Regions from separate parts of the Homo sapiens genome. Here region 1 is linked to region 2. The links are contacts of gene promoters, found by promoter capture Hi-C in blood cells and fetal thymus (Javierre and others, 2016). All regions are on one chromosome and are shown on one strand. The core of a region is centred on a gene start or on the middle of the fragment in contact, and the rest is flanking DNA. Distances in the headings are between cores, read along the strand shown. Region 1 overlaps CHN1 (chimerin 1). Region 2 holds the start of CHN1 (chimerin 1).

What was found. Contacts are between HindIII fragments. The CHiCAGO score rates a contact against its expected background, and 5 or more counts as called.
Region 1: a fragment that was not itself captured here is called in contact with the fragment with the promoter of CHN1 in region 2 in 1 of 17 cell types (naive CD8 T cells); the score reaches 5.1 in naive CD8 T cells.

The regions. Positions count from the first base shown.
Region 1 is chr2:174,805,392-174,812,058 of GRCh38, reverse strand. It overlaps CHN1 (chimerin 1), which reads left to right. Exons shown (of 13, transcript NM_001822.7): 10 at 471-548; 11 at 3,017-3,154. Among named protein-coding and RNA genes, the nearest start is that of CHRNA1, 44 kb to the right of the region's middle. The HindIII fragment of the contact is 1,343 bases long and covers 3,348-4,690 here.
Region 2 is chr2:175,003,392-175,009,857 of GRCh38, reverse strand. It overlaps CHN1 (chimerin 1), which reads left to right and starts at 4,477. Exons shown (of 13, transcript NM_001822.7): 1 at 4,477-4,964. The coding sequence starts at 4,946. RefSeq lists a silencer at 4,717-4,776 and an enhancer at 4,761-5,307. The HindIII fragment of the contact is 4,598 bases long and covers 3,005-6,466 here.

The sequences.
Region 1 (6,667 bases), core at 2,770-5,269, 200 kb after region 2:
TCTGCAAAAGTTGACAGGTAAAGACAAATTCATTTTTCAGTTTTTAAATTTTTCTTTGGTTCAAAAAGCAAAAGTATAAATGCTCTACTAAAACTATCTATAAAGCCAAAAACAGAGCTGCATCCTAATTATTCTTTCCCACTTGAGAAAAACAGGCCTATATTTTATCTTAGTCTTCTGTTATGTAAAAGAATTTATGATGTAATTGGGGTGATGAATTATTTCCCTTAAGACTTAACATATTTCACTTAATTAGACCAAATGATGAGCCAGATGATATTCAGGTGACAATAGGTAAGAGTTAAAGAACTGTGTGTGAAATCGTTTTATTCTAGGAGAAGAGTGTGAAAAGATTTCTAAACATGTATATTTTATTTCTTCTGACACATTACCTCCCAGCTTAAAGTGTGAGGAGTTAAAATCTGAAGAAAAGGCATAATTCAAAGAAACTAACTAGTTTTATTTTTCAGGTCTTAATTCTGAAGGACTATACCGAGTATCAGGATTTAGTGACCTAATTGAAGATGTCAAGATGGCTTTCGACAGAGGTATGTTTTTCACAATGTTCCATAACTTAGGACAATAATACTCTTTTCTAAAAAGGCACAATTTCTTGTGAGGTATTTTTTGCATTATTTTTCTAAATCATTGATGATTATTATACCAAATTAAAAAACTTAGCTTATAATTTCTTCTTTTTTCTGAGTTGTAAGTATTAAACAGTCAAATTTCAGAATATGAAAGAAGTATAAAATTAAACTATGTTACCAATATTTGAGTATCCAAGGCTGGTCCATGTTCACCAAAATACATACAGAGCAATTACATTCACCAAAAATGATAGAGAAAAGAGTAGGATCTATACCATTACAGATTTCAGGCTTCTCAGGCTTGAGTTAACCCACCTTACCCTGCCTGTCATCCATGCCCCGCTGGCATCCTCATCACCATCTTCGATTAGCTGAGTGAGACCCAAGCCCGGACTCAAGTTTTGGGGCCAGAAAGCTGAAAGAAGCTTTAGGGGCCTTCTGTGGGGGACCCATCAGCCACTGTAGGAGAAGGGGCCCAGTCAAAGAAAAGCTCAGTGGAGCTTAATTTTCTTAGCTAACATTTAAATTAAGATTTGCTTCCATGGCTCTCCAATTTGTCTTTGCTTCAAGGACTAGAACAAGGTGGTTCCAAAGAAGACCTGTAGCCTTGAATACAGGAAGTAAAGGAGTAAGAGTTAGTGATCTTTTAAAGAACCACTTTCCTTTGCAAGTACGTATTCTAGTTCTATCACACAAACCTCTCCCATTCACAGACCTCTTGTAGGCAACAGAGGCAGAAAGCAAAAGTAATTAAATATTCATTACCAACCTGAGGGAAACTAGGCCAGCCCATGTATGTGATAAGAGCAAAGAAAGGGAGGTGAATTAATGGTGTATTCACTCCAAATAAGCATCAGGAAGAGCAGTCCTGAATCCCTGCCAGATTGAATGGGAAGAAGCATCTCTTTACTCTGGAAGCTCTGCAACTGAGCATGTCCATTCCCAGCCTCTGGCTATGAGTCTCAAAAATAAATTCACACTGACAAAGAAACTGAATGTTCCTATGGACCCCAGAGAGCAAAGAAATGACACAGTTTCCTGTATAGAAAATATGAGACAACCATTTTGTGACCTGAAAACACCAGTAACAGATTTTAAAATTCATGAAGAGCTCACCTTGGCTCCCTGTAGCCACACTGCTGGGGGCCAGTCTTTGGCCTCCCAAGGATGTGTACCAGCACTCATCTGCAAGATCTATAGTAATGATGCAAAGGATTTTAACATGGATTACAGGAAACCAGTGACTCGGATCATTAAAATCAGTTCTATATATAAATGCTGCCCAATTCCATGCATGTTCAAAGGAATAATCCTATACCTTTGAATAAACAGAGCAAAATAATTTGGAGTAATTAAGGATGATCACTTCTGAGAGGCATAAACCTCAAGTAATGAGATCCAAGAAAGAAGACAATATCCATAGGATGCTGGAATGAACTCATTTAAGAGCCAAGGTGAAAAGGCAAGTTTGGGGAAATCTTCCCCAGCTTAGGAAATAGTGACTGAATGGAAAGCTGACTATTCTGAGGTCAGCAGTTGCCATTATACCTCTGCTACATTTTGTCCTTTGGTGGAATCACAGATATTTATGTGACAGGTACAGTGAGAGATCCATGGTCAAAACAAATAAAATCTCATCAGCTTTACCCCAGAAGAATCCTAGTCTGCTGGAGGCAAGAGCAGAAAGTAAAGAAACAATCAGGAAACAGAGATGTTATAGACGTCTTGCTGATATGGTATAGCCCTACTTAGAATGTAGTATGTGGATATCAGATTCCAGGATTTGTTTACATTATTTTAAAACAGAAAATAAGTAAATAGATAATACAGATGGAAGAATATATTTGTGTATTTGTGTATACTTACTAAAAAGCAGGTTTTAAAAGAACCAGTTTAATAACAACGTACATAGTAAGCCCCGGCATGTTACTCTTTTAGGCCCCTAGCTTGTTTAAATCTATTTTCCATTGATTGGTTAACTCAAAAATATTAAGCAGCTACTATATGCCAGGCACCATGTTCTTTAGAACATTTATAGAGCATAGACGAGGTGCCATGAATCCTGCCGAGCACTTTAGATATGATGGTTAACCATGTACGCTTGGTCCTTGCACTCATGGAGGGCTCACATTAAATAATAATCACACAGTGGCTATTGATTTTATTTTAATAAGGGCTATAAAGGAAAATATTAATAACTGGGGAGTTTAACCTGTCTAGTAGGGCAGGTAAGGCATGCTGGAGATCAGAAGAGGCTCTTTCACAGAAAATTAATCATTAATATGTAACGTAGCACACTAAATTTTACGTTAAAAACTGAAGAATTGCTAATCTTTAAAATCTGATTTGTATACAGATATGTCATTCATTAAAACAGTGCTGTGAATCCAGATATTTACTTTTATTTCTTTCAACATCCTTAAAAGATGGTGAGAAGGCAGATATTTCTGTGAACATGTATGAAGATATCAACATTATCACTGGTGCACTTAAACTGTACTTCAGGGATTTGCCAATTCCACTCATTACATATGATGCCTACCCTAAGTTTATAGAATCTGCCAGTAAGTATGAATGCATGTATTTCAAATAACCTGACAACGTCCTCTTGGTAATCACCTTCCTGGTTTTCTGGCTAACTTGAATGCATTTTATGAAATGTTTCCCCTTTGCCTCTCTCTATGGTTAATGTACTTACAAGAATTTTGCATTGTTCTCTAACGTAGATTATTTTATGACTTAATACCATCAGAAGCTTCTTTGTAATGTGCTAAACCTCATTTTCCAAAATAAGGCTTATACCAGTGCTCTTTAGATGTAAGCCAATGCTTTTGTAAAATAAAATAAAAATGAATAACTGGAAAAGTAAATTAAAAAAACAAAACCAGGCTGGCAGTGGCTCACGCCTGTAATCCCAGCACTTTGGGAGGCTGAGGTGGGCAGATCACCTGAAGTCAGGAGTGCAAGACCAGCCTGGCCAACATGGTGAAACCCCATCTCTACTAAAAATACAAAAAATTAGCTGGGCGTGGTGGCACGCGCCTGTAGTCCCAGCTACTCAGGAGGCTGAGGCAGGAGAATTGCTTGAACCCGGGAGGCAGAGGTTGCAGTGAGCTGAGATTGTGCCATTGCATTCCAGCCTGGGCAACAAGAGCAAAACTACGTCTCAAGAAATAAAACAAAAACAAACAAAAAACCAACTATCTTTTATTAAATTCAGCAAACATAAAATTTCTATCAGATTACTATATGTTTCTAAATTCTTATTCTCAGTTTCTGTGCTTGTATAAGTTCACTCAGACTATTAACAGCAAACTGGCACTGGCCCACACATTGTACTTTAAAAAGCACTATTTTATATCAAGAAGTTTTTGTAAATTCTAGTTGAAATGAAAATGAGAAAAAGCAAAGGTTTATTTGTCAAAGTTCATTTATGCTGTAAAAATCATACTTGTAATTCACACTTCATTTTTTAAAGAAGGGAATTCTTATTGGTTTTAAGTATTAGCATTACTGGTTTTTTTGGAAAAGATAGGCTATTTCTGTCATTTTGCTTTTCTCTCTTTAAAACCATATGTTGTCTTCATCTTTAGATGATAACATCACTTCCTTAGTAACACTAATTTGCTTTTTGACTTGGGAATTTCATGAAGTACAATCTTTCTTTGTTCTAAATTTTAGTTTCCCTCTCAGGGCTTTTGTAGAGGATTTTTGTGGTTAGTTCCATGGAGGTCTGATTTCTTGTGGGTCAGCTCAAGCTCCCATGTAGAGAACAGCTGTGAGAATTACACTGATTTCTTTCAAAGCATTAGGTTAGAAAGCATGAAAAATTCTAGGTCTCTTATGGACGCAGTGCTGATCATGAAAATTTGTATGAGGGATCTCACATGTCCTTGTCTCATGGGGCAGACATTTCCTCTCCAGTTAAGTCTGATTGCCACTCATCTAGAAAGCAACACACACACACACACACACACACACACACACACACACACACACACACACACACACACACACACACAGATAGCCCGTGAAAAGCTGCCTAGTCCACAGTATGCTCTGATCCCGAGGACTCCGATCCCACTGAAAGTGGGTAAGCTTCCACTCTGGAAGTAAAACTGAAGCTTGGCTCTATGCCTAACTCTGGGGCACACAATCAGCAGAGGACAAAGCAGTGATGCAAACCCAGGTTCTGAACTCCACACACCGCCATATCTAGGAAGAAGTAAAAGCCAAGCCTCCTCTTGGACTTCGAGGCCTTTGTCCCCACAATTCCAAATGACCTCTCCTTCCTTCCCCACACCCACCTTAGCTGCTGAAGAAAATCTCTCCTTTTTATTATCCTTCCAAATCATTTGTCATCGTTATGGAGTTTCTGAAACAGCCTTCCTGTCCAAAATTAGCAAGCCCCCTTATCTCACCCCTCAGAGAACTCTGGAAACCACATCATAAGAAAGAAACTTTCGGAAATCAAGGTAGAAATTTCTCCTTATAATTTCAGTTATTTGGATGTCTGATTTATGAATGACACCAAAAACCCTGGCATAATACCAATATATAATATAAACGTTTGTTGTACATGTTTAATAGCGATATCTTGTTTGTGGAATATTGTGTCCTTGTACACTCTCTTCTGGCAGTAGAGTCTGTTTCATTCTTTAGATGTGCAGATACGGCCATTCTCTTAAAAGGCAGACAAGGAAGATGAGAGAAATTAACATTTATAGAGCATAGACGAGGTGCCATGAATCCTGCCGAGCACTTTACATCCATGATGTAATTTTAGAAAGGAGATGTGATGGAGTATCAGTAAATTGTGTAAGATCACATTGCTCACTAGGGGCGGCGGCAATGGCATTCACACACACCTCTAAGGTCAGAGCCCTTGCTTTACCCACTCTGTCACACTGCCTGGCTCACTTGATAGAACAGGGAATGAGACTTACACAAGGGAAGAAGGAAGAACCCCTTTCAAACGAGGGACAGGGTTAAATGATCCTTCCTAATGCGGATATATTCTCCAAAATTTTTTTTCTCTCTCAGCTCCTAAAAATGTCTCTGGCATTTATTAGCATCCTTTGCCAACAAAATATCAGAATTTACATTAAACCTTTCTTCTACAAAAGCTGTTTGAGCTCTGCTTTTGCAGCTTTCTTGGAGGAACCTGTAGCTTAAAAGCTGGAAGGGGGTGACTGCAAGAAATGAAAAAGGAAAGCAAGGGTGGAGAAGGCCAGGTCATCCCATGCTACAGCTGGAAGTTCTTCCAAAGCCCCTGGAAACTCCCTGATGAACCCACCTGAAGTCTGTGTTCACTCACCCCCACCTTCCTTACTCCCTCCCCCTGCAGTTAAGACATTGCTGCCCTAGAATAAAAGGACAGGTGCTTGTCACAGAGCCTCCAGTAACCCAACATTATGGATGCTTCCTGGTCACGATGGAAACAGCACTGCCAAAGTTGAGCTCCCTGTGGTAATGAGGGGAGAAATCTTCCTCTGGCCAAGGATTCTGAGAACTCTGTTCCCAGAGCAGCTTCAAAAAGCTACATGTCTCAGTGTGTAACCTTGAGATCAACTCAAAGCCCAGGGTTCTTGGTCCCAAGCAACTTGAAATCTCTGGAAGAGAAGCCTGGGAAGGAGAACTTGTTAGTATTTCCTCAGCTCTGCCACTGAGCTGCCCCTTTTGCTAAGTTTTAATCTTCTTGTATTCAAGTTTCTCTGTGTAAAATTAACTAGACATACTGTAGAAGAGCTTTTAATTAGATCTTTATGGGCTTAGAGTCTTTATTTCCTTCTCGGACAATGTTCACATTTTCCAGATCCTTCCAGGCCCTCCTCTAATGCCATCTGCTCTTCCCTGGACCTCTCAGCTGCAGACCATCTTTCTCCTCTGATTCCCATCACCTCTACTTGGACATCTTTACTGCCTCCTTCCTTCATGCTGGAAGGTTGTAATTACGTTTTGTCTTCCTACTTCACCGGAATCCCTTTTAAAGGGAGGAGTTCTTGCTCATGTTCCTTTTCCCACAGTACCTGTGATAGTCCCTTACTTACGTAATAGGTATAATAAATATTTGTTGA
Region 2 (6,466 bases), core at 3,228-5,727:
ATAATCGGAATTAAGTGTTTAAGGAAAACGTTGTTAAAAACAAACCAAATAGTCTAGGCGCGGTGGCTCATGCCTGTAATCCCAGCACTTTGGGAGGCCAAGGCAGGTGGATCACTTGAGGTCAGGAGTTCAAGACCAGCCTGGTCAACATGGTGAAACCAATTTCTACTAAAAAATACAAAAAGTTAACCAGGTGTGGTGGCTCATGCCTGTAATCCCAGCTACTCAGGAGGCTGAGGCAGGAGAATCACTTGAACCTGGGAGGCAGAGATTGCAGTCAGCTCTGAGATTACTGCACTCCAGCCTGGGTGACACAGTGAAACTCCGTCTAAAAAAAAAAAAACAAAAAACCAAACAGACCAAATAGCTGGATACAGTGGCTCATGCCTGCAATCACAGCACTTTGGGGAGGCTGAGAGGAGTGGATTGCTTGAGCTCAGGAGTTCCAGACCAGCCTGGGCAACATGGCAAACCCTGTCTCTACTAAAAATACAAAAATTAGCCGAGTGTGGTGGCATGCACCTGTGGTTCCAGCTACTCCAGAGGCTGGGGTAGGAGGATTGCTAGAGCCCACGAACTCAAGGCTGCAGGGAGCTGAGATTGTGCCACTGCATTCCAGCCTGGGTGACAGAGTGAGACCCTGTCTCAAAACAAAAACAAATCCACTTTAAACAAATTCACACAGTGGAAACAAACACTGTAACTAGTAACATAAATATGGGATAGAGAGAATGTCACATATTGTGAATATTTAAATAATTTTAACTTTCTTAATTTTAACTTTAGCAGAAGTATACTGTGTAACATTTTTCTCTTCACTAGCAAACTTCTGCACTATTTTGGGAACTGTGCTAATAGCACTGGTATTCCTAGTGTTTAAAGCTGTGTTGACATGACAAAGTACTATAATTTTAACTTGTTATTGTGAGGCAGAAACCGCCTCATTAATTTCTGCTTCATTGAAAACTGAGGAACAAATCAATGTTTACCAATGGGAATGAAGCTAAATGGGTAACAAAAAGAAATTCAAAACACTTGTGATAAGTCATTAGTTTAAAATGTAGGAAAACCATTTTAAAGGGTTGTCTAGGTTCTGTTTAGTCAACAAAACTTAAATAAAAATGAGAAATTGTTTTAGTAAATTTGAAATGGGTTGTTCAGTGCACACTTTTAATTTTAATCCTGTTAAACCAGAAAAAGGTTGCTTTCTACATGATTAATATAACATTATTAGTACAACACATTGCAGAAGAAATAGCAGTACCACTGGTTTGACAAAATATGACTTCTTTATTACATTAGGTATTTATGAACTTTAGATATAACAGCACTTTAAATATATTGAAGATTCAAATAAAAATGTCCTCTGTTTTATCCATAAACCAGTTAATTTAAAGATTTTAAAATATCACACAATGACAGATAAACCTAAAAGGGACATTAGAGATACCTTAGTACCATCCTTTCATTTTACAAAGGAGGAAGATAAGAACTAGAAACAGTAAAACATTTGTCTAAAAATCTGACAGCTAGTTAGTAACGAATAAACAAATCTGGCTCTTCTAAGCACTTGCATGTTAAGCACAAAATGAAATCATTGAATGAAAACATAAATATTTTGAGAAGTCAATTCATTCTTTGCCCTTCTTTTATAAACAATCTAAGTCACCACCCGTAATAATCACCTCCAAGCAGTTAACGCCCTTCCTTGCATTGACTCTGTAGCTGAAAGGCTGTGGCTTTATTTTCAGCTAAGTGAGAAAAGAAGCACATGCAATAGAATAGGAATAGCTCATTGAAAAAAATACGCTATTTTAAAAGCCAATACTATTTCCAAGACAGGCACTTTGATCAAGTATAGAGAGCATTTTGTTAGAGCATCAAACCATTTGGAAGTCAGTTGAAAGGAATGGCTCGTGGAAAGCAGGATGCTTTAAAGGGAAACATAGCAACATTCACACTGTTTTGTTCCAAATTGTACCTTAAAAACAGCTGTGTGTGTGTGTGTGTACGTGGGTGTGCGAGTAGAAAGGGGAGAGGAAAAGGATCTTCACTTGAGTTTAAGCAGGGTATTTCACTAGGATTCAGTTGTATTTGGCCAAACTAGTGAGTGGAAAGCTGGTCTAGTAACCAAAGGCCGGCTGTATGATGGGAGGGTAAATCTGAGTGCAGGGCAGCTCCTTTCTCTCTGTCTCACTCCCAGGACAACCCCTCAAGGGATGGAGAGAGCTACTAGCAAGCTGAGCTGCAGCACCAAAACCTTGATGCTCTAACAGAGCTTAACAAAGAGGAGAGAAAGGCATTGTTTCTCTTTTAGCATGATGGGACACATAGTTCTGAGTAGAAGGGCATGTTAATAAAAACTCTTTGAGACAAAATGCAACTTCCCAAACTCTATGCAGAATGGCTAAGGACAAAATACTCTCGTTATTTTGCTTCTAATACTAAACAGATTTTTCTTTTGAAATTCAAACCATGCAACCTCTAAATTGATGCGGGATGTGGGTAGGGAAGGTGGTCGGTGAGAACACCAGAAATCTAAGATTTTCCCATTGGTTCTGCTACTAAATAGGTGAACACATTTGGGAAAATCTTTTTACGGGGAACTCAATTTTTTTACCTATAAATCATGGGAGTTTTGGTCTTTTCCTATTCAAAATTCAATGGTTCTATTCTGAAGGAAAATATTTTCCTTTAAATTATAAAGGCAAAAACTTTCTGAGATTACAAAAAACACTTCCAGGGGCTCACCTAAGGTCCCTGAATAGCCCATAATCCCCTTGAAATTATGTGAAAAATTTCCGGTGAATGTGTGTATGTATGCAAGCACTTTTCTAAGAGGAGGGACAGTATTTTCATTAGAGCCTCAAAAGGAAATTTGGTCCAAAAATGTTGAAGACCACTAGTTGAAACAGTAAATGGAGTCTTCGGTTTCTGATTTATTTGGCTGCAGAGCAGATTAGCAGCAATCTTTATATGGTTATAAAATCTATCCCACAAAGCTTTCTTGAGTTTCTCATTTATTTTCATGAGCTGTGTGTTTGTAATTTTTTATGAGCAGAAAGGTTGTTCAAAATCAAGAGTCCATTTTCATGAAAGATTTTAAATTCTGGGGATTTTAAAGATGTATTTTGATTAGTGGCTAAAGAGAGCCATTTTACATCACAAAATTCCAAACATATAGCATCTTAAACACTTGCCCATTCATGTTGAATCATTTTAATATTTCTTTCTTCCTGAGTTAACTGACTTGAAACAAAAGGCTTGGCTCCTCCTTCCAACCTGCTTTTCTTCTGATGCTTAAGTCTGCTTTGAAATAATGATGGTGAATTAACTGTGGTTCCATTGGAAGTACTGTAGTAATCTCCCACTTTATCAGGATTCGATCTCTAAGATACATTAAATACAAGATATTTCTATAATATTCTTAAAGAATTATTTGAAAATGGGAGAGAAGACACTAGGGAACCTGAGGAACTAAGAGGAAAGACGCCTGTAGAAAGAAAGGAGAACCAAAGAGAAGATCTACATGATCAGATACCAAAATAGTATCAAATCCCTAAGCAGAGAAACAAGAAAAAAGAAGGAATTTCTTAAACAGGGAACACATATAGCAACTAGAGAAGAATGACTTTTTGAATACATTAAACGACAACGACGAAAAACATATAACCCAGCTTTTCAAGAACATCTTTTGGCTGACAATCTCAAGGCGTTGTATGGCTCCTCATGGCAGAGACAGAGGTGAGGAGACAACATCACAGAAAGGAGGACGTTGCCAGTGATTATCAGATAAATACAAGAAGCTCAGGGGAACAATCTTTTGTGGCAAATAAGTGCCAGTCAGTGACACATGCTGATTTTTTTTTCCTTGAGACAATATCAAAGAGGTATAATGTAAAGGGAAGAAAATCAGGTGTAAGCATTGGTCTTTTAACAAATTATCTTAGGTAATCTCAGATGCTTTTTAAGCGACTCCTTTTCCTAATGTGTGTCAATTTCATCAGAACTACTAGCAGCTCCTAAGTCCAAACGGAGAGGAATGCAGCTTTCAGTGCCTCTGTTCCTACCAGAGCCCTGCAGCTTCAGGTCACCGGCTCCAGCCACAGTGAGCCTGGAGGGCGCCAGGAGAAGAAATATGTTCTCACACGCACCAGGTCCCCAGATGACCCTGCCTGGGCGCTGCGTTCACTCAGCATCCTCCTGTGACTCTTCCTCTTTCGAGTAACAGCGTTTTTCTCCTCTCTGCGCCTCCTCAAATTCCATTCAAGAAAAAACCTGGGCTTTCAGCTAAAACGCACACCGGCCCCGCTCCATCCCGCTCCGGGCGGCCGCCTCCAGGGGGGCGCTGGTGGCTCCTCGCAGCCGCGGGAATGAGGGCGCACCCTCTTACCCCCGCGCGCGCCCGTTGCCATGGGAACGCACTCGACCGGGAAGCCCGAGGGAGAGGCGGGAGGCAGCGGCGCGGCCGAGCTCGTGGGAGACGCTATCGCAAGATGGCGTCTGCGAGGCCGCGGGATGCGGAGTGAGCGCGCCCCGCCGGGGGCTGTGCGAGGCTGCTGCTGCTCTCCCCGTCGCCGCCGCCGCCGCCGCCAGTGCGGCGCCGCCTCTCCGCCAGCCACTGCGCCGCGGCCAAGCCTCCTGCCTCGCAGGTACCTCCTCCCGCGCGCACGCTCCGCGCCTGATGGCAGCGACAAGTGCCGGCTCGCGGAGAGCTAGCGGGGCTCCCTGGGCCCGGTGCGCCCGACAATAACGCGTGAATAACTTTTTCTTGCAGCGGTCCCCCGCGTCCCGGCCTGCAGCCTCCCCGGGCGCCGGCGCCCCCAGCACGCCCCATCGGGCACCCCACTCTCTCCGAGGTGTGGGTGCGGCGGGCTGATGAGGTGATCCCTAGCCCGCCTGGGAGGAGCGCCTGGACTCGCGGGCGGCGGCGAGCGCCTTTACAATGGCCCTGACCCTGTTTGGTAAGTGCAGCCGTCTCCCCGCGCCGCCGCAGGTGGGCCGCGTCCCGGGGCTCGGGGGCGGGGGCCTGGGGGGCCTGGGCGCCCGGGGAGGGGGCGCGGCGCGTGGGGTCGGGGCGGGCCGGGGCCGCAGAGTTGGGGCGCCCGGGGCGCCGGCTTGCTCCCTCGCGCCTCTCCCATTGTTTCCTCTCCCGGCAGGGCCGATGGGCGTGTGCTCCCCTGGCCAATTCTCGGCTGGGAGGCTCAGAGGTCCTGGGTGTTTTGCAAACGCACAAAGATTCTCTAAGATGCCAACTTGGGAGTGAAGTTAACTGGTTGTTTTCAAACCTGCCTTTCCCGTCGGTAAATAAATCCTTGGAAAGTTTATTTATTTTGAACGAGGTATCTGTGAGTCCCCAGCCTCCTTGGAATTGCCAAATGCATGTGTTGCTTCCTGTTGGACTATTGGGGAATTTTTTTTTTGGACTCAGTATATTCCGTTGGAAATAAGTATGATTTGTGAACTGAATATGGGTTAAAATTGAAAATGTTTGCACTAACGAATGAGAGCAGACAGAATAAAGTTGGTTACCAGAAGATAACTGTAATCTCAGGAGACTGAGTATTCATTAAGAATGAAATGTTATTTTTGTGGTGTAATTACTGCAGCACTGTTGCTTTTGGTGGTTAAGACTTCAAGCTGTTTTTTTCTCAGTCTGCAATGACAATGGGTTGGGAAAAAGGACTGAAAAGATACATTCTTTCCTTTTACAAAACGACTATGGTACATACGTACCTGACTTTAAGAAAACTCAATATGTGAACATTAGACGTTCAAAGTATTCAGCTTTTTTGAAGAAGCAAAGTACAATGATATGTAATTGATAGCTACGAGAACAGCCTAAGTAAGTTATTCACAATATCAAGTTTCCAGTTCAGTTTTAATTATGTCATTTGATCAAACACGTTAGAGGTGTTACATACCTCAAATGCTTTTTGAGGTAAATACTTCCCAGTGAATTAAGCTGCTAGAATCAAAGTGTTACTTTTATTTAACTATCTTATTTTATAAATTAAACTTAGACCCAGAGAGGTTGTTTCCCAAAGTCACATGGCTCTTTTGTGGCAAAACTGAGCCTAGAATTCACTTCACCAGGCTTCAGTCTGGGACTGTGTTTACTGTGCCCAAGTGCATTACTAGAAGTGCCATTTCTTACTTGGTGATGATCCTCCATAGGTACTTTAAAAAAGTGTCTTCTTTTTCTGAAAAATAATAAAATTCTCGCTGTTTCTCAGTACCTTGTATCTAAGCATTATTTAATAGCAGCATTTTCCTTAAATGTGGACCTTTTTGGTACAAACATTTTCTTTCCTAAAGAGATATTTGGCATTTTCAAGGTGTGGTTTCAGAAGTAAGGTTTACAAGTCAACTTTTCAAATACTCGCATTCCTGACGAATAAAAAAGATAAATTGGGGTGAAAAATGCTCTTTTAAAAGGATTTCTAAATTCTAAATCTTTAACCAC